7 separate regions of the Homo sapiens genome follow, and regions 2, 3, 4, 5, 6 and 7 are each linked to region 1. The links are contacts of gene promoters, found by promoter capture Hi-C in blood cells and fetal thymus (Javierre and others, 2016). All regions are on one chromosome and are shown on one strand. Each heading gives the region's core, a stretch centred on a gene start or on the middle of the fragment in contact. The rest is flanking DNA. Distances are from core to core; before and after follow the strand shown.

Evidence for each region. The method cuts DNA at HindIII sites, captures the fragments that hold promoters and counts their contacts. A CHiCAGO score of 5 or more calls a contact.
Region 2: a contact is called between the fragment with the promoter of IL17A here and the fragment with the promoter of TMEM14A in region 1, in 1 of 17 cell types (naive CD8 T cells). The highest score is 5.0, in naive CD8 T cells.
Region 3: a fragment that was not itself captured here is called in contact with the fragment with the promoter of TMEM14A in region 1 in 1 of 17 cell types (total CD8 T cells); the score reaches 5.4 in total CD8 T cells.
Region 4: a contact is called between a fragment that was not itself captured here and the fragment with the promoter of TMEM14A in region 1, in 5 of 17 cell types (naive CD8 T cells, erythroblasts, megakaryocytes and 2 more). The highest score is 8.8, in naive CD8 T cells.
Region 5: a fragment that was not itself captured here is called in contact with the fragment with the promoter of TMEM14A in region 1 in 2 of 17 cell types (monocytes and naive CD4 T cells); the score reaches 8.3 in monocytes.
Region 6: a fragment that was not itself captured here is called in contact with the fragment with the promoter of TMEM14A in region 1 in 1 of 17 cell types (monocytes); the score reaches 5.4 in monocytes.
Region 7: a contact is called between a fragment that was not itself captured here and the fragment with the promoter of TMEM14A in region 1, in 6 of 17 cell types (neutrophils, fetal thymus, M1 macrophages and 3 more). The highest score is 5.8, in neutrophils.

What each region holds. Positions count from the first base shown.
Region 1 is chr6:52,668,920-52,673,182 of GRCh38, forward strand. TMEM14A (transmembrane protein 14A) reads left to right here and starts at 2,194. Exons shown (of 5, transcript NM_014051.4): 1 at 2,194-2,326. It overlaps LOC730101 (a long non-coding RNA gene), which reads left to right. Exons shown (of 3, transcript NR_024405.1): 3 at 1-234. RefSeq lists enhancers at 1,410-1,910, 1,899-2,058. The HindIII fragment of the contact is 3,190 bases long and covers 332-3,521 here.
Region 2 is chr6:52,184,579-52,188,841 of GRCh38, forward strand. It overlaps IL17A (interleukin 17A), which reads left to right and starts at 1,797. Exons shown (of 3, transcript NM_002190.3): 1 at 1,797-1,880; 2 at 3,025-3,227. The coding sequence starts at 1,854. The HindIII fragment of the contact is 1,880 bases long and covers 131-2,010 here.
Region 3 is chr6:52,240,132-52,244,394 of GRCh38, forward strand. The region is part of intron 1 of IL17F (interleukin 17F); the gene reads right to left. Among named protein-coding and RNA genes, the nearest start is that of IL17F, 2.2 kb to the right of the region's middle. The HindIII fragment of the contact is 621 bases long and covers 1,887-2,507 here.
Region 4 is chr6:53,052,821-53,057,083 of GRCh38, forward strand. The region is part of intron 1 of CILK1 (ciliogenesis associated kinase 1); the gene reads right to left. Among named protein-coding and RNA genes, the nearest start is that of CILK1, 6.9 kb to the right of the region's middle. The HindIII fragment of the contact is 905 bases long and covers 1,981-2,885 here.
Region 5 is chr6:52,309,816-52,314,078 of GRCh38, forward strand. No RefSeq gene overlaps it. Among named protein-coding and RNA genes, the nearest start is that of MCM3, 27 kb to the left of the region's middle. RefSeq lists a silencer at 478-547. The HindIII fragment of the contact is 1,829 bases long and covers 1,390-3,218 here.
Region 6 is chr6:52,330,375-52,334,637 of GRCh38, forward strand. No RefSeq gene overlaps it. Among named protein-coding and RNA genes, the nearest start is that of PAQR8, 30 kb to the right of the region's middle. The HindIII fragment of the contact is 7,409 bases long and covers 1-4,263 here.
Region 7 is chr6:52,378,968-52,383,230 of GRCh38, forward strand. All of the region lies in intron 1 of PAQR8 (progestin and adipoQ receptor family member 8), which reads left to right. Among named protein-coding and RNA genes, the nearest start is that of PAQR8, 19 kb to the left of the region's middle. The HindIII fragment of the contact is 5,472 bases long and covers 1-4,263 here.

The sequences.
Region 1 (4,263 bases), core at 944-3,443:
TATTAGTACCTGTGTCTCTGTCATCACTAGGAATCACAGATATCCACGTTACAGATATCTTAAAATATTTATGTACAGCACCACTCTGAAATTATGGTAATAATTAGATCCACCCCCTAGGTCTTGTAATCTTTAATATGTTAATAAAGAAGCACATCTATTATGTGACAGATTTAAATGTTTAAGAATTTGATTTCAATGAAATTGCATTTCAATAAAATTGGCTTCCTTTGCAATCCTGTGTATTTTATTTTGTGCATTTCTCCAGACTGCCAAAGAGGTTGGTGACACATTGAAAGTTAAGAGTCTCTGCTGTGGATCATGCATAGAAAGCTTTACAAAACAGTTGAGGGGAATAGGCTTTCCTGCATCCTTACCTTGGGCTGCAGCCTTTCCATTAGCTGGAGAAGGCAGCAGCTGGTGCCTATGAGTTGAGAGGGCAGTGGTCCCTTTGCCTAAGAACCATCCTGTTCCCACATATTCAAGGGTATGGAATTCCCATAATATTCAAAGAGTTTTTCTTTAGTTTTAGGTGATACGCCTTGAGTAGGAATATCATGAGGCTGTTTCCAGCTTCGAGTATGTTGGTGATAGGGTGTAAGGGATCTCAGAGCATCTAGTCTTGTCCATATCTTAAATCCAGGCACTGAGGTCCAGAGGGGAGTTATTTACCCAGGTCACATCAGATGAAGATAATGAAGTATTCCAAGAGGATTTTAGTTTTATTCCAAATAGGGTAAGTGTTCTGAGAGTGTGAGGAGAGAAGGTGAGGAGGCTGGGGTAAGGATGGGCATAGAAGGGGATGGAAAGGAGGGCTGAGAGAACTCAGAACCAAATTTCAGGCTATCACTTTCTCCACGCCACATTCCAGTGCCTTGCCATCAACTCTTCTGTGAATCTTCAGGAATTTTATTAATTCCCCAGGACCAACTTAGACTTTCATAAGTTAGATGTAGTTATATTACTTCCCTGAAGCACTTTTATGCACAAAGAATAGATGTAGCAAACAAACTTCACAAGATTTAATTTTTGAGTTTCCTTTTTTATTCTGAGGAATTCCGCTGTAATTCTCAGTGACACAGAACCTCTAGAGCTACTTCACTATGACAACCTTCTTCAAATCTCCAAAGGGCTGTTACATAAGGAAGAGGGTCGGAGTTCTGTATTCAATCAAGAAGGCAGAAGATTGAGATGATAAGTTGCTACAGGGAGGCATAATTTAAAGTCAATTTAAACTGTAATCCCAGCACTTTGGGAGGCAGAGGCGGGAGGATTGCTTTGAGCTCAGGAATTCAAGACCATCCTGGGCAACACAGTGAAACCCCGTCTCTACAAAAAAAAAATAGTCGGGTGAGGTGGCACACACCTGTAATCCCAGCTACTTGGGAGGTTGAGGCTGGAGAATCGCTTGAACCCAGGAGGCAGGAGGCAGAGGTTGCAGTGAGACGGGATGGTGCCACTGCACTCCAGCCTGGGCGACCGACTGAGATCCTGTATTTAAAAAAAAAATAAGGTCAGTTTAAGTTTCGTTCCTGGGATTGAGCGGATTGCCTTGCATTAGGCAAGGTTTTAAGTGCTTTCCAACTCTGGAATTCTATACCTTTCCCAGTAGATATCTAAACCCAGCAAATCCTGGGCCTGAAGTTTAAAACTAGGATCCTCGTCTCCCAACCACATCTAGATGATCCCATAGTGTAATGAAGGGTGCTTGGGCTTTGACACCAGGCAAACTTGGATTTTGACCTGGGACAACTAAGTCACTTGACCTCACTGAACCTTAGCTCCCTCCACTGACAGTGGGGACAGTCTGCTGGAGGGTGTGTAGAAGACCTCGGGTTGCCTTTTGGAGGTTCTGGAAATGTCCCTTGAAAGATGAATGGAGTTAATTTAAAAATCTTCGCCTTCTGTAATTTTGGCTTCTTGCAAACACGCTTCCTGCCAGTCCTGCTCCGTCAGGCGGGAGGCAGCAAACCCCAGCCCTGGCTCCAGGACAGGGCCGAAGGCAGGATAGACGGAGCAACGGGTCCGGCTGCCGCCGGGATGTTGCAGCACAGGGCCTCCTGGCTGCCTGGCCTACAGGCCGCCCGGATTCAGCCGGAGGGCATGGACCGGGTGGAGTCCTGCAAGGCGAGAAGGGACACAGCGCATGCGCGCGGCAGGGAGGGCGTTTCCAGGAGGGAGCGGCCTTTGCTCAGCGCGAGACGGCTGGGCGCCGAGTGGGACAGCGCTGGTGCGGAGACTGCTTCCGGACTCCAGGTACCGCGCTTGGCGGCAGCTGGCCCCAGACTTCTGTCTTTTCAGCTGCAGTGAAGGCTCGGGGCTGCAGGTGAGCTGTGCATCCCGCAATGGAGACCTTCCTGCTCTGAATTTTCTTACAAAACTGCAGAAATATAAGGGGCGTTGCTTAGCGGGCATCCCCTCCCCCGCGCCAAACCTGTACAGCAAACGATGATGCAGAGGACCTTGAGGGGATTTTGCAGGGCATCGGTCTTACCTCCGCGGTATCATTTTTCTCCTCCTCCCGAGTTTCTGCCTTCTGGTATCCCTAAATATCCCACCTATCCTGCCTCCTACCTTCCTGGATCTGGGGTGGTGGGGTGGGCTCATGGACCATTGCAAAATGCTTGGCAGGATTTTAACCTTCTCAGCACCACCCAGACCCCACTCGAAAATGTGCCTTTTGTGCCCTCCAAGAGCTCAAGGGTAGGTAATTGTTATATCTTTAGCATGTGAAAATGCTTTTTATGTAACAGTTCACCGAAAATCTCTTAATTCTCCGAATTTTGGAGGATTTGGGGCGGGCAGCGAGGCTGTCCCCTGTCACCTTGTTTTGTACCTGGTATGGTAAATCGTTTTGCTGCATTGCATCCAAGATGCGTTTTAGTCCTTCCAAGGCTTGAGCATCACATTTGTGATGAGAGCGTGTGATGTGCTGTGCACATCCTCTCCCACCTTATCCCTTCCATGTTAACACAGCCTCTGGCTTTAATGTGTGCTTCTGGCCTGGCCACATGGCTCCGTCATGGAATAGGTGATTCTTTTGTCTGAATATTCTCTGTGAGAACAGAATCTTCTTGCAAGCATTGGGAGTAGATTTATTTTGCCTCTTTAGAACAACAGTCAGTTCGCTAAGGAGATTAAGGGGCTACCTGTTTCCTGGCAATAAAGCTGTATTGGGTAGGTCAGTTACAGAATGTCTTCAGGCAGAAGCTGTTCCTTTGGTTCACTCACTCATTTATTCATTTAACAAGTATTTTAAGTACCTGCCTTGTGCATGGCAGGGTTCTTGGTGCTGTGAGGAGGACAAAGATAAACTGAACCTTGGTTTGCCCTCAAGGAGCTTGGCTGGCTGAGAGTTGAGAGAATCCCAACCAAGTAAAAGGGTATGGGTCCTCAAGAGAAGATCGCAGGAAGAGCTGGGGGGCTCAGGATGGAGTGGAATTAATCTTTCACAACAGCTACTTAGCTTTAGGAGAAAATTAGGTCTAGAAGTTACACCTGATAATGAAAGAACTCTCATAAGCTTCAGATCTGTATGTAAGGGTGTTTTCCGGACTGTGTGTTGGGCGTCTCAGACTGAATACATTCTAAACAGGTCCCATCATTCCTAGCCACCTCCCTCTTCCCACCGCCACACACCTGCTGCTGTTCCCATGTTCTCTGTCTCAGGGAATAGCATGAGGCTCCCCGACTCCCTACTTCTCCTAATGGTCTAAGCCAGATACCTAGGGGTGAGTCATCTCTGATTCACCCCTGACTTTCCCTTCCCGCCTCAAATTCAATTCTGATTCTACCTCCTGAACTTCTGAAATCTGTCCACCTTCTCTCCATTCTCATTGCCATTTCTCTAGATAAGCCTACCGTTATCAACTAAGCTCTTGCTTACTTTACTGCAACAGCTTCCCGATTTATCTCCCTGCCTCACTTCACAACCCATCTTCACTACTGCAACTGGGAAGTGCTTGCTGGAATTTAAATCTGATTGTGAGGCTCCCTTCAGTGATCCTTCATTGCCCTTAGGACGGAACCAGACTCCCTTTACGGGGCTTATGTGGGTGTACAGCCCTGTCTTTCTCACCAGCACCCTCTCTTTTCACAAGCCCCTTGCACTTTTCATTTTGAGAACATGCTTTCTTGTGCCATTAGGGCCTTGCACATGCGCTCCCTTCTGCCAGGAACACCCTTCCCTGCACCCTCTTCACTTGACTTATTCATGCTCCCCTGTAGGGTAAATGCACCTGACAGCAATAATTAAAGCATACC
Region 2 (4,263 bases), core at 547-3,046, 480 kb before region 1:
AGAAGAAAAGGCACAATTAGAGCCATGCTTTGAGAATCATTATTGAAAGCATGTCGAAGATGGTCTGAAGGAAGCAATTGGGAAAAGCAAGCATAGCTCATCCAAGTGGGTGAGAGTGTGAGTTAGAGGAAGCTTGGAAATTGGTGATGTGAGAGATGCTGCAGCTTCTGGGATTGCTGCCTGGTCGTGTGTAGAGGAGGGGCAGTAGGGCTCATTCTGAATCTTGTCTTGAAAAGCACATAGATAGTGATGCCAAAACCAGGACTACGGAAATCACTTGAAGCTGTATCCTACCTCCTCCTCCATCTGTATCTGCTTCACCTATCAAGGATATCTACTATTGCCACTAAAATTCAGGTGCTTATGGCCTCCCTCATTCATCAGCCAGGGTTTATCTGGCCAGGAAAGAGAAGCCCCTTCAGGCATTTGCAACAGAGGGAGTTTAAGTCAGAGAACTAGTCACCCTGGTAGTTGAGATTGCCATCAGCAAGAAGCTGTTACCATTTGAAGGCTGCAGGGACAAAGGGAGTGAGCAGTCCTCTGGGAGACTGAGGAAGGAAGCTCCTGGCTTCTCCCCACTTTCCACTTTCCACTTCCCACTTTTACTCATCTGTCCTCCAATTCCCTTTTGGCTGAGCCTAGCTGAAACCCAGCTGACAGGGGAGTTTGAGCAAGCAGCCTCCAGGGTCAGCCCTCTGAGTTACAGGTAGAGCAGGACAGGGAGGAATGGATCTCAGGACAAACAGGTTCAGGATCCGGCAAACTAATTTTACACTCCAGCCATTGAGTTGGAACTACTGGCCAGCCTCCCCCCGAGTTAGCATGTAGAATATGGGATACCAGCTGAGTGCCTGAGAGTTATCATTCACCTCAGTGGGGGTAGGGGCGGAGAAGGGTGACATATAGCCAGCCACATCTATATCCACTGGCCCTTCCTTGTCCTAGTCCTCTGTATTCCTGAGAAGGAACTATTCTCAAGGACCTGAGTCCAAGTTCATCTTACTTAGAGTACAGAGAAAAGAACCGCTAACTCCTTCTCTCTTTCCCCCATCATGTCTCCTCTCCTTTCTAGTTCTCATCACTCTCTACTCCCCCCTGCCCCCCTTTTCTCCATCTCCATCACCTTTGTCCAGTCTCTATCCCCATTTTCAATTCCTTCCTCAAAACACCAAGTTGCTTGGTAGCATGCAGGGTTGGAACATGCCTTTAACAGAAAATCTCGTGTCTCTTGAACCTAGTTATTTATTCCTTGAGCAGAGTAGATATTCAACAAAAGAATTGTTAAATTCAATTAAATAGGATATATCTTATTATTAAATATTTTTTTCATTTTTTGTTTACTTATATGATGGGAACTTGAGTAGTTTCCGGAATTGTCTCCACAACACCTGGCCAAGGAATCTGTGAGGAAAAGAAAGATCAAATGGAAAATCAAGGTACATGACACCAGAAGACCTACATGTTACTTCAAACTTTTTCTTCCTCATGAACCATTAAAATAGAGCATAACTCTTCTGGCAGCTGTACATATGTTCATAAATACATGATATTGACCCATAGCATAGCAGCTCTGCTCAGCTTCTAACAAGTAAGAATGAAAAGAGGACATGGTCTTTAGGAACATGAATTTCTGCCCTTCCCATTTTCCTTCAGAAGGAGAGATTCTTCTATGACCTCATTGGGGGCGGAAATTTTAACCAAAATGGTGTCACCCCTGAACCCACTGCGACACGCCACGTAAGTGACCACAGAAGGAGAAAAGCCCTATAAAAAGAGAGACGATAGCGCTACATTTTGTCCATCTCATAGCAGGCACAAACTCATCCATCCCCAGTTGATTGGAAGAAACAACGATGACTCCTGGGAAGACCTCATTGGTGGTGAGTCCTGCACTAACGTGCGATGCTCTTGCTGATTTGGACCAGATAGTATTTCTGGACCGTGGGCATGAAACGCTGGGTTCTGACTATGGAGATCCAGGAATACTGTATATGTAGGATAGGAAATGAAAGCTTTGGTAGGTATTTAAGTCATTGTGCAGCATTTTCAAGAACTGATACACAGCAGTTTGAAAGATAAGATTAAAACTGAAAGATAGCTATATTGGGGCTAAACCACACAAGAAGTGTCACATGATGCTGTGCAGTAAGAAAGAAAATTTATTGAAAGTCTGTTTTTCTGAGTACAAAGGATTTAATATAATTCTCCCACGGCATTTTTCTTTAAAATGGGTCACTATCCTTGAGATTTTGAAAGCCGTAGCAGCAACAACCTTTGTTTCCATTATCTCGTACCATATTCTCAGTACATTGAAACTATGTATTCTAACTAAACATAGGTATAACTGTGTTTTAGAATAAGTGGGGTTTATATTTTTTAAATATTTAACTTCAAGTATCTTTTTTGAAATCTGATTTTATTACAGAATCAATACATGTTAAATTTAGAACAACTGGAAAATATACCTAAGAAAACATGAAGGAGATCGAGTTTTTAGTTGGATGCCTGCCAGTAGCACCAACAGCACTTCTAGCATGAATATTGATACCACATAGATTTTCTATAGCTCTTTCTTCCAATGTGAATGTTTGACTTCACGATGAGTTTCACAGAATATGGGACTGAGAACAATGGTGCAGGAGGATATTTCTACCTAGAAAATCAAGGTTATTATTCCTTCCCAGACCTGACAATGATGCATGTGCTGATAGGCTAATGACATGCCATGACTTGACATTTTTATTAAAATTATTGCCAACCAATGGATAACATGTCTTTCCTAAGTCAAAAGGAGAATGTTGAAACTAGTTTTTTTAAAAAAATTTTAAAGCCATGGTGTTAACATTATGTTGGTCATCTACCTAGATTTTTCTCTAGCTGATCTGAAAAATGTAGTATAGATTGTCCTGGAACATTGTGTGTTCTCTATGATTAGCAATGCATCATCATCACAATTAATTTGTCAAAAAGAACCACATAGTAATCTAATCTCCAACCTCTCTCTCCTTTCCCATTCAATTCTAGTCACTGCTACTGCTGCTGAGCCTGGAGGCCATAGTGAAGGCAGGAATCACAATCCCACGAAATCCAGGATGCCCAAATTCTGAGGACAAGAACTTCCCCCGGACTGTGATGGTCAACCTGAACATCCATAACCGGAATACCAATACCAATCCCAAAAGGTCCTCAGATTACTACAACCGATCCACCTCACCTTGGAATCTCCAGTACGTAAAGCTTCCAGATAAAAATGCTATATTCTTCATCCCTCTTATGCATCAGACTGCCAGTTAAATCTCCCTGAGGATGATTTTATTCATTTAGAATTACCAGTCAAACCTGGAAGGACCACTGTGAAGAGCAATTCTCAAACTTTCTACAGATTTCTTTAACCAAGCACAGGACAGCCTCCAATAATCCCTATCCTGTTAGATCTAATTGTCACTGACACCAATAATCAACCCAAATTAATTATAATCATTATTCTAATATTTATGAGACCCCAAGTCTATTCTTTATTTATTCAAAGAATAGACATTTATCAAAGAGGATTAATGCTTTTATTATCTTAACCAGAGCTGCCATTGAGAAGATTTATTGCAAATAATTAATAATTAGGGTTTTTTACTTTTATTCTTTTGCTTATTTTTGTTTTTGAATCCCAGTGGAATAAGTATCACTGGGGTATTTCTACCCCTTTGTGTGTTAAATAGTCTTGATCTACTTCCTAACATACCTATGCTTGCTGTATCCTTAGTATACCCAGTATTTAGACCCCATCAAGGGTTAAATACCAAATGTATTTTGATCATTTGACTTCATACAAATAAGTCTCTGTTCTGTGGAGCCTACAGATTGGTCTGATTGTAGGATTTCTTCTCTTCTTCCCATTACTAGGAAGAGTCAAAATAAATCAATTCAAAAATGCAAGCAAATCATTCACTGATCTAAAAGAGAGAGGGAAGAGAAGGTCATAGAGACACTTAACCTTTTGTTTCCAGCCCTTTATCTCAGCTCTGGGCTCTGTCCCACGAATGTGATCTCAGATAAAATTTTGATGTATTCCCTCTTCAAAGACAGACTTCATCAAGTCAAATAAACAGCTATCTTATTCTAGATGGTTCCAAGTCTACTCTTCCTTTGGTCTTCTTCTGTCTGTCAAATGTACCCTAAAAAAGCTATCATTTGTGTCAAACTTAAATTTTTTCTGTGGCCTCAGTCTATCTTATTTTATTCATTCTTCAAATAAATTGGAGAAAAACT
Region 3 (4,263 bases), core at 947-3,446, 430 kb before region 1:
CATAATACAGAAGAAGAGCTGAAGGCCGGGTGCAGTGGCTCACGCCTGTAATCCCAGCATTTTGGGAAGCCGAGGTGGGTGGATCACCTGAAGTCAGGAGTTCAGGACCAGCCTGGCCAACATGGTGAAACCTCGTCTCTACTAAAAATATAAAAATTAGCCAGGCGTGGTGGTGCACGCCTGCAATCCCAGCTACTCGGGAGGCTGAGGCAGGAGAATCCTTTGAACCTAGGAGGTGGAGGTTGCAGTGAGCCGAAATTGCACCACTGCACTCCAGCCTGGGCGACAGTGCGAGACTCCTGCTTGGAAAAAAAAAAAAAAAAAAAAGAGCTGAAAATAAGTTGCTTTTATTCTCTAGGCTTAGCGTTGTTCAGGCTCACACCTTCCATGAGTTAAGGTAGGGAAGGTGATTAGACATGTTGGTTTCAAAGGCCTTCCTTTTCATATTTTGCAGATACTAGAGACAAAAAACAATAAGAGTAAACAAAAAGGTCATAGTGTCCATTTGCCATACTGAGGAAGCTGACACTAAAAAGAAGTTGAAAGCAAGATTGACCCAGAAGAGTCAGAATGAGGCTGATTTGCCTTTAGATAATCAGCAATCATCAACTTTCATCCCCCACAATCGTTCATTCATTCAACAACTAGCTCTTGACTTTACAGTGTGGTAGCTCAGGGCATGGGCTTCAGAGTCAGAAGTCCAGGGTCTGTAACTCAATTCCAGGACTCTTAGAAGCGATGACTCTGTTTCCTCAAAAAAAAAAAAAATGTGAAGATTAAATGAGATGATCCATATAAATTATGAAGAACACTGGCAGCATATGATAAGTATCCAATACTGGCGACTCTTGCTAACTCTATATTGTGCTACACAGTGGACTAGACAGATGTGGAATTTACACTCATATACCTTGTCTTGACAAACTGCTATGGCGTTTGTTTGTTTGTTTGTTTGTTTGTTTGTTTTGATGGAGTCTCACTCTGTCGCCCAGGCTGGAGTACAGTGGCACAATCTTGGTTTACTGCAATCTCCGCCTCCCAGGTTCAAGCGATTCTCCTGCCTCAGCCTTCCGAGTAGCTGGGATTACATACGTGCGCCACCACACCTGATAATTTTTTGTATTTTTAGTAGATATAGGGTTTCATCATGTGGTCAGGCTGGTCTTGAACTCCTGACCTCAAGTGATCTGCCCACCTCGGCCTCCCAAAATGCTGGGATTACAGGCCTGAGCTACCGCGCCTGGCCTGCTATGACTTTTTTTTTAAAAGATGCCAACTTATATTAGAGGGTCTTAGATAACTTCCCAAGCCTACCAATCACATATTTAGGGTTCTTAAGTAAATTCCTCCTTTGTGTTTTCTCTTTCCTCTTCTGTGTCATACTCACTGAATCACTATTAATTTTCATTATGAAAACTTTTAAATACATACATTGGAGTTATATGACTTAGCAATAATTACAATGCTTCTAACAAGTCATTATTACATTTGCTTATATATTCTTAGAGTATATTAGAAAATTCTTTTACATCTCTTTAAACACTGGATTTTCACAACTACCTGGTGAGGTAATCAGAGCTAGTATTAATTATCCCAATTAGACAGGTGAAAGAGTTCTGTCCCAGAGGGAATAAATAACTTGATTGGGTTCACCAGCCTATGAGTACCAGTCTGGGGACTCAAACCTAGGTGTCAGTAGTCAGTGCTATTGTCATTGAAGGTCATTTTTATTATTACCAACATTAATCTTAGTTTTGTCTCATTAGAAGAGCTAAGTGTTTTAGGTAATGTGACAGCTGTACTAGATGTGCATAAGTGTTGTAGGTCACATAGCTCGTTATCAGGAAATCAGATGATGTCTGCAAATACTCCAATTTGCTCCACAAAGCTTTTGATCTGAAACTGTAGATTTTAGTGGTTATGTAATACAGAGCAGGGGCTCTGAACCAGGCTGTTGCTGGTTCTTAAGAATGATTTAAACAGCACCTCTCAGAGAAATCCAGAGCATGACTTGAACTCTTATATGCCACCTATAAAGCAGATGAATAGATATCGCTCTCAATCTGTATAATAGGGGACAGGGGCAAGGGAAAGCACCAGGTGAAGGTGAGCTGTAACAGGACAACAACCTTCTCAGCCTAGCTTTGCACCTCACTCTAATGTGAGCTCACCTGAGCAACCTGAACATCCATCCTCTATACTCACCAGCAATGTGTGGACACATGTAAGCATGCACCTGGCCAACCTCTAGGTCCATGAGAATTTGCCTCAACTACTTATTGAAGATGTCCTATCTGCCTGCACCTCTCAACTTCTAATCCTATTCCAATGCTCCTTGCACTGTTATGTTTCTTGCTGACAACCCAACAGATTTCTTTAAGGAAACTAGAATTAGAAATAGCTATGGAGCACAAAGCTACCCAACAGAATTGCTTGGATGCAATGGCTTTAAATTCACAAATCTTGCCTCTGAACCAAAGAAAAGCATACTGTATGTGGAGACAGAAAGCTTAGATTGGTGTACCAGTTCTTGTGCTTACAGTATCCAGCAATGTTAAATAAATAGCTTAATTGAGCTTTTGTTCATCTGTATAAAGTGGAAAGTATTCCCATCTACTTCAGTGGATTGATCAGAATTTCCAGGACAATAATAACAATATTAATATGAACAGTTAACACTTACTGAATGCTTTCTCTATCATTATCAGTCGTTGTTTATTAGAATGGCCAAATTAACTGAAAATTAAGCATACACAAATCTGCCAGTACAGAGTATAGACTCATTTATTCTCAAAGATATTAATTAATCCTCCCAATAAATGCCATGAGAAAGATGCCATTGTTATCCCCACCATACAGTTGAGGAAACGGAGGCACAGAGAAGATAAATAACTTACCCAAAAATCCTACATTTAGCAAGCAGTGGAGCCAGGTCTGCCTGACATCAAAGCCTATGCCCCTAAATATGGCACTTTGCTGAGCTACATGTAATCTTTAAAATAACACATAAATATAAAATAAAACATACCATTGCTATATGCCATGAACCTTTTATGATATTCAAGCTCTTTTAAGTTGTATGGCTTGTAAAAGGAGAAAAAAAGGAAATTATCTAAGCCAATAATATGATGCGGGATTTCCTAACCCCTGTTTTCATGTACCTCTATAGTAAATTCTTCTCAGGCCTTATCTGACTAATGTCAGGCAAGATTCCAGACCTGCTGGGGCTAGATTTTCATTGCATTAACATCTCTCTTTCCTCCAAGAAGAATGAGATGGTACAAAATAAATAAATAGCAATCAGAGACATGGGAAATTTCCCTTCTCTAGGAGCTGTCCAAAGTCAACACTGGGTGATTTCATTTCTTCCATCCAGGGCACTCCTGTAATCTCAGGGGAATCATTAAACCTCTTGAGGCCCCAGTTTCCTTGGTTAAAATGTATATGTACATAATCCCTAAAGTGCTGGCCAAGCTCCCACCATGAGATAAGAATTTCAGGCCAACCTGACTCTATAATGGATGGCCACAGGAAAGAACATGCTAGTTGTCTGTGATGCCAAGGACTGCACACACTAACACCACCTGGGCACACACTAACACCACCTGGGCAAAAGCCATTGGGTGAGGAGCTGCATTTTTTTTTCTTTGAGACAGAGTCTCGCTATGTCACCCAGGATGGAGTGCAGTGGCGTGATCTTGGCTCATTGCAACCTCCGCCTCCCAGGTTCAAGCCATTCTCCTGCCTCAGCCTCCCGAGTAGCTGGGATTACAGGCAACTGACCCATGCCCAGCTAATTTTTGTATTTTTAGTAGAGACAGGGTTTCAAGTTAGTCAGGCTGGTCTCAAACCCCTGACCTCAAGTGATCCACCCACCTCAGCCTCTCAAAGTGCTGGGATTACAGGCGTGAGCCACCAGGCTCGACCTAATTTCTGTATTTTTAGTAGAGACCGGGTTTCGCTATGTTGGTCAGGCTGGTCTCGAACTCCTGAACTCATGTGACCCGCCCGCCTTGGCCTCCTAAAGTGCTGGGATTACAGGCATGAGCCACCACGCCTGGCCAGGAGCTGCATTTTTATGCCATTATAACTTTTCTAGTTATTTTTTTCTTTTTCTCCACCAGACAGGAGTCAAAATTAAAGTCATCTCTGTTTTTTAAGAAGTAATTCCAAAAAGACCCCAATCAAACCTAATTCCTTAGGATTCTGTTTTCTGAAATCCTAGGCATGACAGTCCTTAAACCAGAATGATTGCTGCTACTC
Region 4 (4,263 bases), core at 1,183-3,682, 380 kb after region 1:
TGGGGTCCTTAGCCCTTCACGGTAATAAGAAGTGGAAGAAATGTCCGTACCTCTTCAGGCTGGGCGTGTGCTCTGCAGCTCACCACAGTCCCCATTTTTTGCCTGTTGCCACTTGCCATTTTTTTTTTTTAGCTGTCATTTTTTTGTGTGCCTTCATAGCCACTTGTTTTACTGGATGAAAAATATTTCTCTGTTCCTATGCCTATAACAAAAGTGACAAAGTAAAAGCCTGAAAAAAAAAAAAACCTTATACTTAAAGAAAAATTGGAAGAGAAGAAAAATTGTTCTTTTTTAGAAGAGAAGAGCAATTTCTTACTGTTTGACAAGCACACACCCAGCTTCCTTGAGTCTTTTATTTTCCTCCTCTGCCCTGACAGCATTTAAATTCAGCTTCTGGTACAGATAGTTAACACTGCTTGAGAAGTGAATGGAATGTAGCAGCCTGTCCATTACCTTGAGAATTAGCATGTATTTCTAACTCGCAGTATTTCTAAATTCTGCTTTGACTCCAAGAATTAACTTGGATAAATCATTCACTACAACGAATCTACACTTAGCACCCTCATATATCAAATATGCCCAAAACATGATAATTTTAGTACTTAGTATGTGCATAGTACTATTATAAGTGCTTATGCATATATTAGTACATTTAACCCTCATAATTCTACCAGGCAGGTACTATTACAATTATCCCTATTTTACAGAGAAGGAAACTGAGACACAAGTTACATGTCTAGATTATACGACTAATGTGGCAGAAATGAGACAGGAACCCAGGCTGACTGTACCAAACTTAAGGGAAAGCTTTCAAAAGATCATGAAATCTTTGGAGGATCTGAAAATGACAGGAACAGAAGTAGTACTTTGTATCTCAAAGCCCAAATATGAAAATGAATGATATGGCTATGTTCTAATTGTCTTCATTCTGCAATCAAATATCAGCGAATCCTCTGGAGCCATTGGCAGCACCAACATGCCCACAGTGGAGGCAAAGTGAGGGACTGGTTCCAGTTTCCACTCAGCACTGATCTGCTGTGCCTCGGGGCATCTCTTGGTCCTTGAGTTTACTTTTGGTGGAATTAGGGCATGGGACTTGCTCTAAGGTGGTTTCTTCCTCTAAAGCTGTGTGATTCTGTGACTCTGTATCAGGAATTGAGCTAGCATTTGTCTAAGAAAAAAAAAAGGATAAATGTTTCTGCTTTTTGCATCACATGAACAAAGGTTAGCGGAGAAGACAGTGCCACCGAAGGACCCTGTATGCTACACACCTTTCTTTCAAGAGATGCACAAGTGCCCCAGTGCCTCAGCCAGGCCCCAGTAAACATTAAACATCGATTCCTTCTCTTTCGAGCTCACATGTCACCTCTTCCAAGCCTCCTGCCCCAACCTACACATATAGACCCGAGAATGGTCCTCTCCCTTGATGCCATAGTGCCTTGTCCTCACCTCACTGCCAGCCCCTTCCCCGTGGCAATGACCTGCAGGTGTACCCTCTGCTTCAGCCTCGACACTCTCCAAGACTGCTTCATCTTTGTCTTCTCACTCCACTTGCAGTAGCAAGTCCTCAAAGATTGTTTGAAGGGCCCAAATGTGAGTTTTAGTCTTTGCTATTATTTTCTGTACCACCTTGGCTAAGTACCTCAAAATTCTCAGTGCTTCTATTTTGTCATACACAAAACAAAGATAAACTGTTGGGCCCAACTAAAAGTTCTGAAGTTCTGAAGTGGAAGAACAGTGAATACCACAGAATAGCTGGGGCAGGCAGGCAGCCTGGGCCCTCCCACAACAATGCCAAGATGACTGAGTCTCAGAGGATCACAGAAAGTCCCCCTCCATGCGGTCAGATCAGGCCTTTGGCCTTTGGGTAAGGCTGTACTCAACTACCAAAGAAAGACAGCTTTATCTCTCTTTCAAAGAGTTCCAGCAAACCTTTGAAGTCAATGTTATGATGTTCCTGGCTAGGTGACATTGGGGAAAAGCTTCCTGTGATTTGCCCCAATTCCCTCCCCTCAGCGTCAATCCTCGGTGGAGGCAAAGAACATTTGCTCATGGCCAGCAGCTCACATCAGGTGCCTTGCTCATTCACAGCCTAAAAAATGGAGGCGAGGGGCAGGGAAAATTGTAGTTCATTCTTTATTTTGAAACCTTAATCAATGAATTAATGCCATCATTACACATTTTCTAAGACAGGAGACAAAAAGTTACAGCAAACTTGGGGTTCTCTGGGAGTTGTGGTTTACCAGGCCCACTGACACCATTCAGTTCCTTAGAAGGAGCTTGTCTCCCTTTGCATTAATTATCTTACATTGAAAAGATTCTGTTACTTTCATTTATCCTCCTAGGAAAAGTGGATTATATGCAAAATCATTAGATGACCCTTCTCATGGTAATTCTGAGTTCCATTTTACCTTTACAGGTTTATAATTAGACTTCGTATTCTAGGTTTGAATGTGTCCTAACTTTACAAAAGTCAGTGAATACTGTTAATTTCTTTTAAAAAGGTACTAGAAATAGTATATCCGGGTTTATGTTTTTCTCCTGGACCTAATTCTTCTGCCTCTGTACATTTTAGCAAGCAAACCTTTTAAGCATTTTGCCTCTTGGACTACTGCTTTTTTTCTGCATAAGGAATAGCAGTTACAAAGCCAAAAGGACCTTCTTTACATGGATCTTGCTTTGTCTTTACCTTGACAGAGGAGTGAATTAAAGATGCATTCAGCTATTGCATCAACTGGATGTTAACAAGAGAAGATAATCCGTTACATGATGTGCCTTCTTCTGTGCCCCAGAAACTTCTTCATACCTTTACCATCCCTCTCCTCTTTCAATCCCAGCTTCTGAAAAAAGAACTCGTCCTGCACTAGGTCCTTAATCCCATGAGAAGCTTCCATAACTCCCTGTCGCTTCTCTTACAATATAAAAGGTGCTCACGCCTTGAACCTTAAAAAAGTTCTTCAATCACTTGCAGATGATTTTTAAACTAGGACACATAGTTGGCTTTGGTGGACTGTAAAGAACTGAAGTAAAGGCGAAATGTTAAAAAAAATAAAAAATAAAAAAACAGCCAGAAAAACAAACCTTTACCCTGCCATGTGTGAAACTGTAGATGAGCTAGAACGAGAGTCCCCAGCTTAATGAAAACTGCCGAGGGTGGCAATAGTCCTGCTTGCCTGTGTTTCAGGGGTGGGCAAGATAAGGGATAGTGAAGATAGGGGAGTGACTAAGAGCATATCACAAGTTCATGTAGATAGTAACTTTCATGATACTGGCAAATAAGTAGCTGGACGTTACACAATAATACTTTACCTTTCTGGTTCTAACGCATTATCTTTTACGGTAGTTACAAGGACAGCCACATGTTATCAGTATTTATATGCTATTACAACACATTTGACTAAGGAGCTGATCTCAGTGTAAGATGCTTTGCTAGCATGTATACAAAAAATCAAAATGAATTAAAGGAAGTAAAGGCTTAATGTAAAAATAAAATAGGGCAGGGATAAGCACGTTTTTTCTGTGAAGGGTCAGTAAACAGGATAGGCTTTGCAGGCTCTCCATCTCCGTCACAACTCCACTCTGCCATTGTAGCATGAAAGCAGTCAAAGACAATATGTAAATACATGGGCATGGCTGTGTTCCAGTACAAATTTATTTACAAAAACAGGCAGCAGGAAGGACTGGCACACAAGCCATAGTTTGTCAAGCCCTGAAGATGAGGAAATCCCCCAAATAAGCAGAAGCACTTTAGTACTCTCCATAGAGCCCTCACTTACCCCTAGGTTACAGGGCTACATACAAGCTGTGTTTAACCTTAGAATATAAGCTCTGTGAGGTCAGAAACGTTGCAATATTCACAACTGTATTCCCAGTACTCAGTTCCCAGAGAACTGGCATAGTTGGCACAAGTACGGACTCACAATAAAGACATGTTCAATGAATTAACTAATGAATGAACAACTTATGGAGCTTTAAAAGGCAATCCTGACCATAGATGATTTTCCTATACTACCACGTCCACCCTCACTGTCATCCCGTCACGCCCCACTTCTTTGCAAACTGGACAACTGTACTGGGACTAGGGTACCAAAATTATGACTCCTTCTAAAAACTTTTACACTAATTTAGGAAAAAACTTGCTTTTCAACAGCTAAGATCACATGAAGGCATGTATATCTTACATTTTTCTTACTCCCCTTTGTCTTAGTTAAATCATTCTCTAGTAAATTCTCTTTCAAAGCAAAGGCAATGTCCAAGAGGGCA
Region 5 (4,263 bases), core at 1,054-3,553, 360 kb before region 1:
GAGGATGGTCTTGATGTCCTGACCTCATGATCCACCCGCTTCAGCCTCCCAAAGTGCTGGTATTACAGGCATGAGCCACCGCGTCCGGCCTACTGTTTTTATATCTAAGTAGCATGGTCCATGATGGTCAAGGCCATTTATAATGGGGTTATGCATCTTACCTAACTGACCCAATGACTATGTCTATAATGTAGCAATCCTTTCCTTTAATAGAGCCGAGACCCTCTCCCCAATATCCAACATTCATCCCTGCCTCTGATTTTCTTTTTGCTCTTCTCTGACCTAAAATACTATTTCTCTCTTTTGTCCTTCAAGGTTTAAAGTTCTATCTCCCCCATTAAGAAAGATTATTCAGTTGGAGCTGTTTAGTACCTTGACTGTAATAGTGGATAGGTAACACTACATAAGTGATACAATTGTATAAAACTTAATACATACACACACACACACGAATACAAGTAAAACTGGGGAAATTGGAACAACATCAGTGAGTGTGTCAATGCCAATATCCTGATGGTACTATCATACTACAGTTTTACAAAATGTAACCACTAGGGACACTGAGCTAAGTGTACAGGGGAGCTCGCTGTATTACTTCTTTTTTTTTTTTTTTTTTTGAGACGAAGTCTTGCTCTGTTGCCAGGCTAGAGTGCAATGGCACAATGATCTTGACTCACTGTAATTTCTGCCTCCCAGGTTCAAGCGATTCTCCTGCCTCAGCCTCCTGGGTAGCTGGGATTACAGGTGCATGCCACCACACTCAGCTAATTTTTCTATATTTAGTAGAGACGGGGTTTCATCATGTTGGCCAGGTTGGTCTCGATCTCCTGACCTTGTGATCTTCCCACCTCGGCCTCCCAAAGTGCTGGGATTACAGGCATAAGCCACTGTGTCTGGCCTCTGTACTATTTCTTATAAGCATGTGTAAATCTGTAATTACATCAAATTTTTAAAATGAATAACCAAAAAATTATATTTCTCATAGAAACAGTCTTATTATTTTTTATTAATTTTTTTACAAAATAGATTTTTCAACTGGTTCATGAAAATGAGCAAAATGTATTGTCTAAATAAAGCCATACCAATTTTTCACCTTATGAGAAATGGAAGTTAGGTTCATTTGGAATAATCTCTTCTCAATGAAAACTTGTTGGTGCCTAGCAATGACTTCCCTTTTTTTATGTTTATAGGATGCCCTTCAAGAACTTTGCCCAGGACTCTGGCATCTATGGTTTGCAGAATCAACCTTCTTCCCCTTTTCACAAAATGGAATAGTGTGTACCCAGCCACAGTCTTCTGGCGTCTCTCCCCGGCCCCACAGTCCCTGAAAAGCTGCCAACAGTCTTCTCATATATAAATTCTGTTGGTACCCCAGCCGGAATTTGTCCAAGCTTGGAGACATAAGCTCATTGAAAGCTAGGCATTCTCATACAATACCCCATTTATTTTGTGCCTCAATGTCTTCCTGCTGATATTTGTATGAAGAACATTCAACTTTAGAAAAGTTGGAACAGGGAAGCTGGTGTTTAGAGGTGGAAGCCAGTAAGTTCCGGGTGCAAATCCAGATTCTTTCATTCTCCAAAGGTCTGATCTTGGGCTAGGTTATCCAATTCTTTGAACTTCAGTTTGCTAATCTGTAAGATGGGAATAATAATCGCTATTATTATTACTATTAGGTTTCAGGTTGTAGTGAAGATTGAATAAGATAATATTTGTAAAAATGCAGAGCACGAATGGATAGTAACAACAAAGCAGGTGAGATGAACAGATCTGCTTCCTCATAGATATGGGGATTAATGGGATTTCAGAGTTGGAGAGCACTAGAGAAGTCACCCAGTCCTACCTCCTGCTCAGCGAGAGTGGTACTCATGAGCCAGCACATTTCAGCATGAACCAGCTTCTCCCTGTCACCTATCACCATCCCATTCGCTCCTCAACAACATGCCTGTACCTTCCATCCCCCATCAAAACCTTTAGAAGGCCTTTTCTCTGTGCCAGTACTTTAAACCCTTTATCTCATTAATCCTTACAACAACCCTGTGATACGTTTTTAATGTTCCTTTTACAGCTATGGAAACTGAGGCTCAGAGATATTAAGTAACTTATCGAAGGCTACACAGTTAATAAACAGGATTCAGCCCAGGTCTGTCTGTAACCAATGCTCCTACTCTTTTCTGCAATATTACATGGCCTTTAAAAAAAAAATTCTTATTTTTCTCAAACAGCTCATTCTTGGCTTTATCCATTTTGTCAGCTGTCCTGAAAGTCCCTCTTTTAGGTGTCCGTCTTTTAGGTGTATCCTTCTGCTATGCACTAAATAGTGTCCACTGAAAATTCATATGTTGCAATGAACTTTAATCCCCAATGTGATGGTCTATGGAGATGGGGCCTTTGGGAGGTACTTAGGATTAGATGAAGTCTGACAGCGGGACTGTCACACTGAAGTCAGTGCCCTCATAAGAAGAGGCACCAGAGAGCTCACTCCACCATAGCCCCAGCACACAAACAGGAGGTCATGTGAGTAAACAGTAATGGCAGCCTCCTACAAGCCAAGAGAAGAGGCCTCAGGATGAGACCTGCCTTGCCAGCACCTTGATCTTGGACTTCCCAGCCTACCGAACTGTAAGAAATAAATTTCTGTGCCTTAAGCCATCGAAAAGTCTATGGCATTTTGTTATGACAGCCTGAGCAGACTAAGCCACCTTCATTGCATCTACATTCTCTTTTCTCAATGCGGCATTTTTCAAATCTGAGCTGACTAATGAGTTTGCATTTCAGCTTGATGGGTCTCTCCAGCTCTCAATTTCCTGCCTTCCCCATTGTTCATTGTATCCTCAGTGTTCAGTTTTTGACAGTTCTCTTATTCTCTGGAGACATCCTCCTGTTTAGTGTCTCAGGCCATGTAATCAGATCTGTGATTTTTCCCTGAATGGTTTGACATTTGCCTTCATAACATCTGACAGTGTCCATTCTTGTGTACTCCAAACTTTGAAAAGATACAGGTCTGCTCAGTTCTGGGGCATAGTGAAAAAAAGAAAGAAGGCATGGATACTTTTACCTAGGCTTCTAGTCCTTCAAGTTGACCCCATTAGTTTCTGCTTGGAGAAACTTTGGGGTCCAAGTTATGCCCAGACTACAGTGTCCCCTTACTTCCTCTGCTTCCTAGGAGCTGCAGTTCTTGGCCAGGCAAATCAACAGGTTAACAGATATGACGCGTAAGCTTTCCTGCCCTTACTGATACCTCCTCTCCCCGAATTGCTCTAGCATTTGTTGTTTATTCCTTCCAGTTTAGCCCTTGATTGCTGGGCCTTGTATCCATTAGGCAAAGTGCTCAGGACCTACATTTCTTCTATTTTTAATTGGCTCTTATTGGCAAATCTGGAATCAGGCAACATCTCATTCTACAAAATAGAATGAGTATTCCTGGACCTACAGTTCTTTCTAGGTCCACAAAAATGTCTGAGACTTTCAGGGATGAGGGGAGAATGACATTAAAAAAAAAAGTTTGCAAAATCAAAATTAATATATGTATCTTTAAATGTCCATAAATTTAACATGATGAAAATTAATTAACTGCAACTCAATTCTACTCTAATTATGTGGTGATATACGTGGTGTTTGATGTAAAATGTGGGTTCAATATATTTTGTACTATGTGGGGGTAGCAGAGCCTCTGAGATTAGAAATGCCTGGGACCTACTGGAGTCTTAAAACTGCTCTGCTTGATTGTTTTACTCTATGCTTTGTTCTAATTTCTTACATCATTCTTGATGATTTAGTAGCATCATGCTACTAAATAGGTAGTCAAATCCTTTAACATATTGCTATACCATGTGTTAAGTACTGTGTTCAGTACTTAGGGTGGGAGTGAGGGGTGATTCACAAAAGATAAAATGGGGGCCCTGGGCCTAAGGAGTTCAAAGTCTAGTTGGTAAGAAGCAGCTTTATCTTTCCCCACTTTCCTTTGCCTCCCCTCGCTTCTTTCAGTTCTTCAAATTCACTGAGTTTCTTCCTTCCTACCCCAGGACCTTTGCAGATGCTGTTCCTTGGAATACTTTTCCTGCTACCATTTGCTCAACTTCCTAACTCCTATCCATTCTTCATTTTAAATGTCACTCCCACTGGGCACAGTGGCTCATGCCTGTAATCCCAGCACTTTGGGAGGCCGAGGTGGGCGGATCACGAGGTCAAGAGTTCGAGACGAACCTGGCCAATATGGTGAAACCCCCGTCTCTACTAAAAATACAAAAAAAAAAAAAAAAT
Region 6 (4,263 bases), core at 571-3,070, 340 kb before region 1:
GGGTGGCGTGGAGAGGGCACCTAATTCAGCCTGGGAGTTGGGTATGGGCTGAGAGTGATTTCAGGCGGAGCTTCTGGGAGAAGGTGACACATAAACTGTATCTTGGGGGAGTTCTTAGAGTTCTCAGAAGGCAAGAGTGGGAGAAAGATAATCTCTCTAGATGGATCAATACTTTCAAAGAGCCAGAGTCAGAAAAGAGCATGGTGCATTGGAAAACTTGTCATTGGTTTGCTTCGGCTGGAATGGAGTGTGGATATGGAGACATGGCAGGAGCTGGAGCAAGGGCCACTTCACACAGGGTGTGAAATGCTAGTTGGAGGAACTTACTCTTTATCTCAATGGGGTGTGGAGCCTCTGAAAGCTATTTAGCAAGGCATGATGTAATCAGATTTGCATGCAGAATGGCAAGGTACAGTGGTAATCACACCCATACATGGGGATTGTTTCTATATACGTTGTATTTAAAACTGGAAAATAATAAAGAATTAAAATTGTGAATGACTTGCTTTACATAAATTAAAATAGGTACCAGGCTATGCCTTTAATAACAGCACTCTCAGCTACCTGTTTTTTGCTTTTTTTTTTTTTGAGACGGAGTTTCGCCCTTGTTGCCCAGGCTGGAGTGCAATGGTGTGATCTCAGCTCACCACAACCTCTGCCTCCCGGGTTCAAGAGATTCTCCTGCCTCAGCCTCCTGAGTAGCTGGGATTACAGGCATGTGCCACCATGCCCGGCTAATTTTTTGTATTTTTAGTAGAGACGGGGTTTCTCCATGTTGGTCAGGCTGATCTCAAACTCCCCACCTCACGTGATCCACCTGCCTCGGCCTCCCAAAATGCTGGGATTACAGGCATGAGCCACCATGCCCGTCCTGCTACTTGCTTTTAAATATTATTTTGAATGGTGTTAATGCCAGAGCTGAGGAAATAGCACATATAACTCACATTCCAGCTTGTCTTTGTCCTAGCTCTTAGAGAAGAACGCTATATAACCTCTAATACCAATGGAGATTTAAGTATTGTAGTGCTTCTTTATAACTTTATATTTATTTCCAATTTATCTTTATGTTTTCCAATAATTACATTTTTAGTTTAAAAAAGAGAAAAAATAGAAAGGAAGAAAACATTCATAGGACAGGTATATCATTAAGTGAATATTTTACTTACTCACATGTTTATAAAATGTTTTTATGAATATAATACCCCTTCCCTGAGTAGTCTGTGGTCTATGCTTTACTTTCCAGCTAAATTTTAGGAAACTGCATCAGAATTTAAGTCAAGGGAGTGAGTAATGCATGGTGAATATTATCTGTTATTGGTATATTGCAACAGGAAAAAAAAATAAAACCTAACTGACTGAGTGACTCAATGTCTATTTCAATCTCCTTTGAGTATGCCTTCCCATACTGCAGAATTGGGAAGCCAAAAACTACATTTTCCAAATTCCCCAGGTAGAGTTTCTAAGGATGTGACTTAGGTTGTGACAATTAGACACACTGACATAAGACTCCAAATTCAGAGTTGAATGAGTTGTTGGGGCACAAGGCGGGCAGGGCAGGAAGCATCTATTCTGCTTGTGCGGAGCACAGCAACCCTAGGTTGTGAGTTTGCTAGCTCAGCTGACACTCCCTAACTGTGGCAGAAGCAGCAACTCCCCTGGCAACTCAGTTCTGAGTGTGACTTTGTTCCTAGTAATTCAGCCTCAAATCCACTTCTTCAGCTCTCCCACTGATTCTGTAAGCCAATTAATACCTTGCAATAATCTTTTTGGCTTAAACTAGCTAGGGAAGGCTATGCTTTCTGCACCTGAACCATGACCAATGTAGTCAGCGAAACCTGAGCCTTTGAGAAAAAGCTGAGGAGAAGCCAGAAAAGTAGCAGTAAAACCAGGACAGGCTGCTACCCTACAATCAAGACAGAAGAGAGTTTCAATAAGCAATGAAACACTGCAGAGAGGCCAAGACAGACACAAATATGAAGTAAAAACGATTCAGCCAGGAGGTCAAAGATGATGTGGAGAGGAGCCATTTCATGGAGTGGCAGGGGAGGAAGCCATATTGCAGGTGGTTGAGGAGAGTCTTCCATTTTATTTGGACTTAATTTTTTTGAGACAGGTCTCGCTCTGTGGCCCAGGCTGGAGTGCAGTGGCGTGATCTCGGTTCATTGCAACCTCCACCTCCCGGGTTCAAGCAATTCTCTGCCTCAGCCTCCTGAGTAGTTGGGATTACAGGCACACACCACCACGCCCGGCTAATTTTTGTATGTTTAGTAGAGATGGTGTTTCACCATGTTGGCCAGGCTGGTCTTGATCTCCTGACCTTGTGATCGATCCGCCTTAGCCTCCCAAAGTGCTGGGATTACAGGAGTGAGCCACCACGCCCCACGTGGACTCAATTTATGAAGTAAGAGTCAGGTGCTGACTACATGATGTGAGAGGTACAGGAAGGTTTTTACATTTCCTATTACTGTGCCTAGAAGCCTACATGGTGGCCCAATCAGGAGGTAGGAATTTTTCTTCTGTCGTCATCTATTAAAGGGGCTCTAGCCCCAACTCTGCCACTGGGAGTTCTGTGAAATAGTTCTCTGAAATTCCATTTTAAAAGAGAAAAAGTTCTTTAGAAAATGGGCATATGGCTAGGTGCAGCTGCTCACACCTGCAATTCCGGCACGTTGGGAGGCCAAGGTGGGAGAATTGCTTGAGCCCAGGAGTTTAAGACCAGCCTGGGCAACATAGCAAGACGCTATCTCTAAAAAAAAATACAAAAATTAGCCGGGTATGGTGATGTATACCTGTAGTCCCCACTACTCAGAAGGCTGAGGTGGGAGGATTGCTTGAGCTAAAGAGGTCGAGGCTGCAGTGAGCTAGGATTGAGCCACTGCACTCCAGCCTGGGCAATGGAGTGACACCCCGTCTCAAGAAAGAAAGAAAGAAAGAGAGAAAGAGAGAAAGAGAGAAAGAGAGAAAGAGAGAAAGAGAGAAAGAGAGAGAGAGAGAGAGAGAGAGAGAGAGAAGGAAGGAAGGAAGGAAGGAAGGAAGGAAGGAAGGAAGGAAGGAAGGAGAGAGAGAGAGAGAGAGAAAGAAGGAAGGAAGGAAGGAAGGAAGGAAGGAGAAAGAAAGAAAGAAAAAGAAAGAAAGAAAGAAAGAAAGAAAGAAAGAAAGAAAGAAAGAAAGAAAGAAAGAAAAGACAAAGAAAACAGGCATACTAATACCTGTCCTGCCTTCTGCACAGGCAGAATGGTGAAAGAGATAAGAGCACAGGATTTGGACTTGGTCAGACCCAGGCTTTAATCCTGATTTTGCCGCTAGTTAGCTGTGTGACCTTGGGCAAGTTATGTATACCTAGCTTTCTCCTCTGGAAATTAGGGATAAGAGTATCAGCTTCACAGTGATTATGACGATTAGTTGAGGTATGTAAGGCATTCAGCACAGTGACTGGCAGGTAGCAAGCTCTCAGAAGATGACAGTTAATTTCATAAGTGGTCCAAAATACCTTTTGGGAGATAATGCTCACGAGTGTTTTATTCACAGGGTTGCTGGCCAAATGAGAAAATGCACAGGAAAGCAAAATGTAACAGGCCTATCAGGATGAAAACACTGTGAGAAAGGTCACACATTAAACCACAAATGTTTTGGGTTCCTTGACAACTAGATTGTGCTACAGAGTTGGTAGGGTAGGGAGGAAGAGGAGAAGCTGAACTTCAACTGCTGCAGTTTTTCCTGGGGCTGGCCCTTGTTAGAATAATAGACACTCTACCATAGAGAGGCAGTTGATTCACCTATACCTGTTGGATAAAAAAGAAAACCATGTGGCTGGTGGAGCTGAGAAAGTGGAAAGAATAAAGGGAGCAGAAGATATATTGCTTGAAATCAGGCAAAAGTTCCATATATCAAAAGCCTCATTCTGGCTGACTTCATCACCAAACTCCCCTCCCAGAGGCCTCTGCCTGGGCTTTTGCAGAAAACATGTACAAACTCTATGCAAAGTAAGAATCCAAAATAGCTTATTTAGAAATAAACCACCTGCTTGTACAAACAGGAAGATCTGAAATCCCTGGAGTTGGGCAAGTGAGTTCCTTGCTTCCCTGCCTAGCCCAGCCTCCTACTGGACCCCCACTACCACAAAGGGATGGAATTACACTCCTTTCTCTCCAGCCTCTTTGCTTTGCTTTTTCCTTTTATTTTTAGTTGTCATGTAATAATTGTACAAATTGATGGGATATGGAGTGCTATTTCTTTTTCTTTTTTTTTTTGAGATGGAGTCTC
Region 7 (4,263 bases), core at 887-3,386, 290 kb before region 1:
GCGCCTGTAGTCCCAGCTACTCGGGAAGCTGAGACAGGAGAATTGCTTGCACGTGGGAGGCAGAGATTGCAGTGAGCCAAGATCGTGCCACTGCACTCCAGCCTGAGTGACAAAGCAATACTCTTTATCAAAAAAAAAAAAAAAAAAAAAAGGAAATTCTGGCACATGCTATGACATGGATGACCCTTGGGGATATTATGCTAAGCAAAATAAGCCAGTCACAAAAGGAAAGCACTGTATGATTCCACTTATATAACGGACCTAGAGTAGTGTTCTCTGAATTCATAGAGACGGAAAGTAGAATGGCGGTTGCCAGGGGATTGGGAAGAGGGAGCCATGGGGAGTTGTTTAATGGATACAGAGTTTCAGTTTTGCAAGATGAAAAGAGTTCTGGAGATCGGTTGCACAACACTGTGAATTGATTTAACACTACTGAACTGTACACTTAAAATGGTAAGATGGTAAATTTTATGTTAGGTATTTTACTTTATTTTTATTTTTTGAGACAGAGTCTCGCTCTGTTGCCTAGGCTGGAGTGCAGTGTCGCGATCTCGACTCACTGCAACCTCCGCCTCCTGGGTTCAAGTGATTTTCCTGCCTCAGCCTCCCGAGTAGCTGGGATTACAGGTGCGTACCGCCACACCCAGCTTTCTTTTTTTTTTTTTTTTTTTTTTTTTGAGATGGAGTCTCGCTCTGTCCCCCAGGCTGGAGTGCAGTGCTGCGATCTCGGCTCACTGCGAGCTCCGCCTCCCGGGTTCACGCCATTCTCCTGCTTCAGCCTCCGAAGTAGCTGGGACTATAGGCGCCTGCTACCGCGCCCGGCTAATTTTTTTGTATTTTTAGTACAGATGGGGTTTCACCGTGTTAGCCAGGATGGTCTCGATCTGCTGACCTCGTGATCCGCCTGTCTCGGCCTCCCAAAGTGCTGGGATTACAGGCGTGAGCCACCGCACCTGGCCGCTATTTTGTATTTTTAAGAGATGGGGTTTCACCATGTTGGCCAGGCTGGTCTTCAACTCCTGACCTCATGAGATCCACCTGCCTTGGCCTCCCAAAGTGCTGGGATTACAGGCGTGAGCCACCCGACCCGGCCTGGATTTTTTTAAAGTGTGAGCAGAAAATAACATGTTAAGTCACAAGGTGATAAGTAGTACTATGGAAAACAAAGAAAAAGTAGAGCAGAGTTAGGTGTTGTGGAATGCCAGGGAGAGTAGAAATGCGGTATTAAATCAATAGGGTGGTTGGGAAGCCTCCTTGAAGAGGTGAGATTTGAGCAAAGACTGGAAGGAGTTGTTTGTCTCTTGGCTACTATTAAAATCTGTGTCTAAATCTGCCAGGGTCCACCCGTGGTATGGCAATGCTCAGTCAATAATCAAGCTGTGTATATCTTTTAAAGTACATATTCGTGGGCAGCTGTGGACGTGGACATTTCAACTCATTTGGAAAAACAATCCAGGCAGTCAGGTAGCACTTCACAGATTATAATCAGATATCATCTGAGACTTGAGGTTATGTTACAGTAAGGACAAATGGTTATTCTTATATGTGGCCTTTTCTAAAATCAACCTATAACCTAGAAACAAACACCAAGGGTTTGATTTCTTTAGTTATTCCAAAATTTGCATGTTGTTGTTTGTCCTGAGAAGTTGTGGTGCCTTGGGAGCTGAGAAAACGTACATTTTTCAATATGAGTTTTAAACGCCTTCATTAAGACTAGGATTTTCCAGGCTTCAACTGACCTTCCTGTCAACTTAAAGAGGGCAGCTTAAAAATCCTTACTTCATGTATTCTTTATTTGATGGATCATATGGCATGGAATGGTGAGCTGCTTATAAAAATCCTGTGACCTGGACATGTTTTATTACAAATTTATGAGGCTGGTATAAACAGGTATCAACTTGCTATCATTTAAGCCAATACTTTGTACTCACGAACAAACTGAAAGAGGTTTGCATCCTTGGATACTTGAACTGATTTTTCCACATATAATTTCTTAACCTCATTTTTCTAGGTCTAATAAAAAGAAGTATACTGAGCATAAATCTCTACTTTGGAACAGGAAAAAATCTCCCCCACCCTCCTCCTCCCACTGAACTTTGTGGGGAAATTAATATCTATGGATGGACAGGCACCTTTGCTTTTCCCCAATCCTGTCTTCTGGTCAAGAATTCTAAAGCTACAACACTAGCAGCAACTCAGAACACACATGGCTGTTTGTAACTCTCTTGCCAGGCCACATTTATAGAATAATTGCTAAGGTGACAGGAACTAGGTGGGGGAAGAGGAAACGGATTCTCTCTCTAAGTCCTTTCTACACTAATGGCAACAAGCATTGGTGGATTCAAAAAGCACAGCAATGGCTGGGTGCGGTGGCTCGGGCCTGTAGGCCCTATACTTTGGGAGGCCAAGGCGGGTGGAATGATTGAGCCCAGGAGTTCAAGATCAGCCTGGTCAACATGGTGAAACCCCAGCTCTACAAAAAGTATAAAAATTAGTCAGGTGTGGTGGTAAGTGCCTGTAGTCTCAACTACTCAGGAGGCTGAGGTGGGAGAATAGCTTGAGCCCAGAGGTTGAGGCTGCAGTGAGCTATGACTGTGCCACTGCACTCCAGCCTGGGTGAGATCTTATCTCAAAAGAAAAGAAAAAAAGCACAGCACCAATCTCAGAAATTGCCCCCTACTCCAATTTTTGTTAACATTCTTATCCACCCAATGTTTGATTTCTTTTAGTTCTGAACACAATTCTTATAAAATTACTGGCATAAATGTAATATTTTGGGTGATTTAACAAGAAAGGAGGAGAAATATTTTCCTTTATCTTTATGCATACACAGCTCTCTATGGGCATTTAGCCTCAGCTGGTTGTTGAGCTCAGGGTATACCCTAAACATTTAGTTTCTCCCACATACATTAGAGAGCCCCATGAAAATACATAAATAATAACACATGAGAATGTAGCAGCCATTAGGTGTATATTATTGTCATAAGATATATATCATTAGATAATGATAGCAGTACTTGGTAGCAAAAGGAGAGTTTAGTGGATTCAACAGATGTTTGTTGAGGGGCCACTCTGGCAAAAATCTGTGCTAGGGTCTAAGCAGGGAGGTACCATACAACACAATACTTGCCCATAAGAAACTTATGGCCTACTTGGGAATACTCAGGTAACTACAGAACAAGGTTGTATATGGTAGCATCATTTAAGTGATACAAACTGGAGGATGCAGGAGAATGGATGGAAGAAGATATTGCTTTGACCAGGTGAGTTGGAAGTCATGGAAGAATTGGCATGTGAGAAGTGCCTTCAGGGACAGATAAGGTTTTCTGACAGGAAGCTATTCCAGGTAAAGGCAACAACCTGGGCAAAAGTCTATAAAGGAATCCCCTTCTAGTCATATACATATCCAATAAGACATGGGCAAGACTAGACTGCAGCCTAGGGTGTCGGAGCAAATCACTAGAAACAACCTCCATGTCCATCCACAGGAGGATGAACTAAAGAATTGTGGTATATTCATACAGTGGAAGTAGTCAGCAAAGAAAATGAGTCAACTAGAGAATAGCAACTAATGTGGAAAAACACAAACGTAGATTAAATGAAAGAAGAATGTTAGGTACAAAATTTGTATCAAGGTTAAAAATATCCAAAAAAATCTTATTTATAAATTTCATGTGGTTTTATTGTATCATTATATGTAGATATAACTATAATTTCAAAATGTTTTCATGTGAAAACAGTGGGAATGAAAACCACCCACAATGCATAGAGACTGCCAGTGGGGAGGGTGGGAAGGGAATGGGTAGACATAGGAAGCTACGTTTCAGTTGAATCCATTTTTTTTTAAGACAGGGTCTCACTCTGTCACCCAGACTAGAATGCGGTGTCACTATCATGGCTCACTGCAGCCTCAATCTCCCAGGAGCAAGCAGTCCTCCCCCTTAGCTGGGGCCACAGGCACATACTACCATGCTCAGCTAATTTTCTAAAAGTTATTTTGTAGAAACAGGATCTCCCTATGTTGCCCAGGCTGGTCTCAAACTCCTGGGTTCAAGTGATCAGCCTCCCAAAGTGTTGGGATTATTGGTGTGAGCCACTATGCCCAGGTAATTGTATCTGCTTTAGAGAGAAGAGGACAAACAGATAGATACACTAATATATTTATAGACACATATAAACACATATACTATGTACATATCTATTTTAAGATCTAAAGTAGACATCACGTTAACGTGATAAATGTTACGTTATTCTCTACACTCT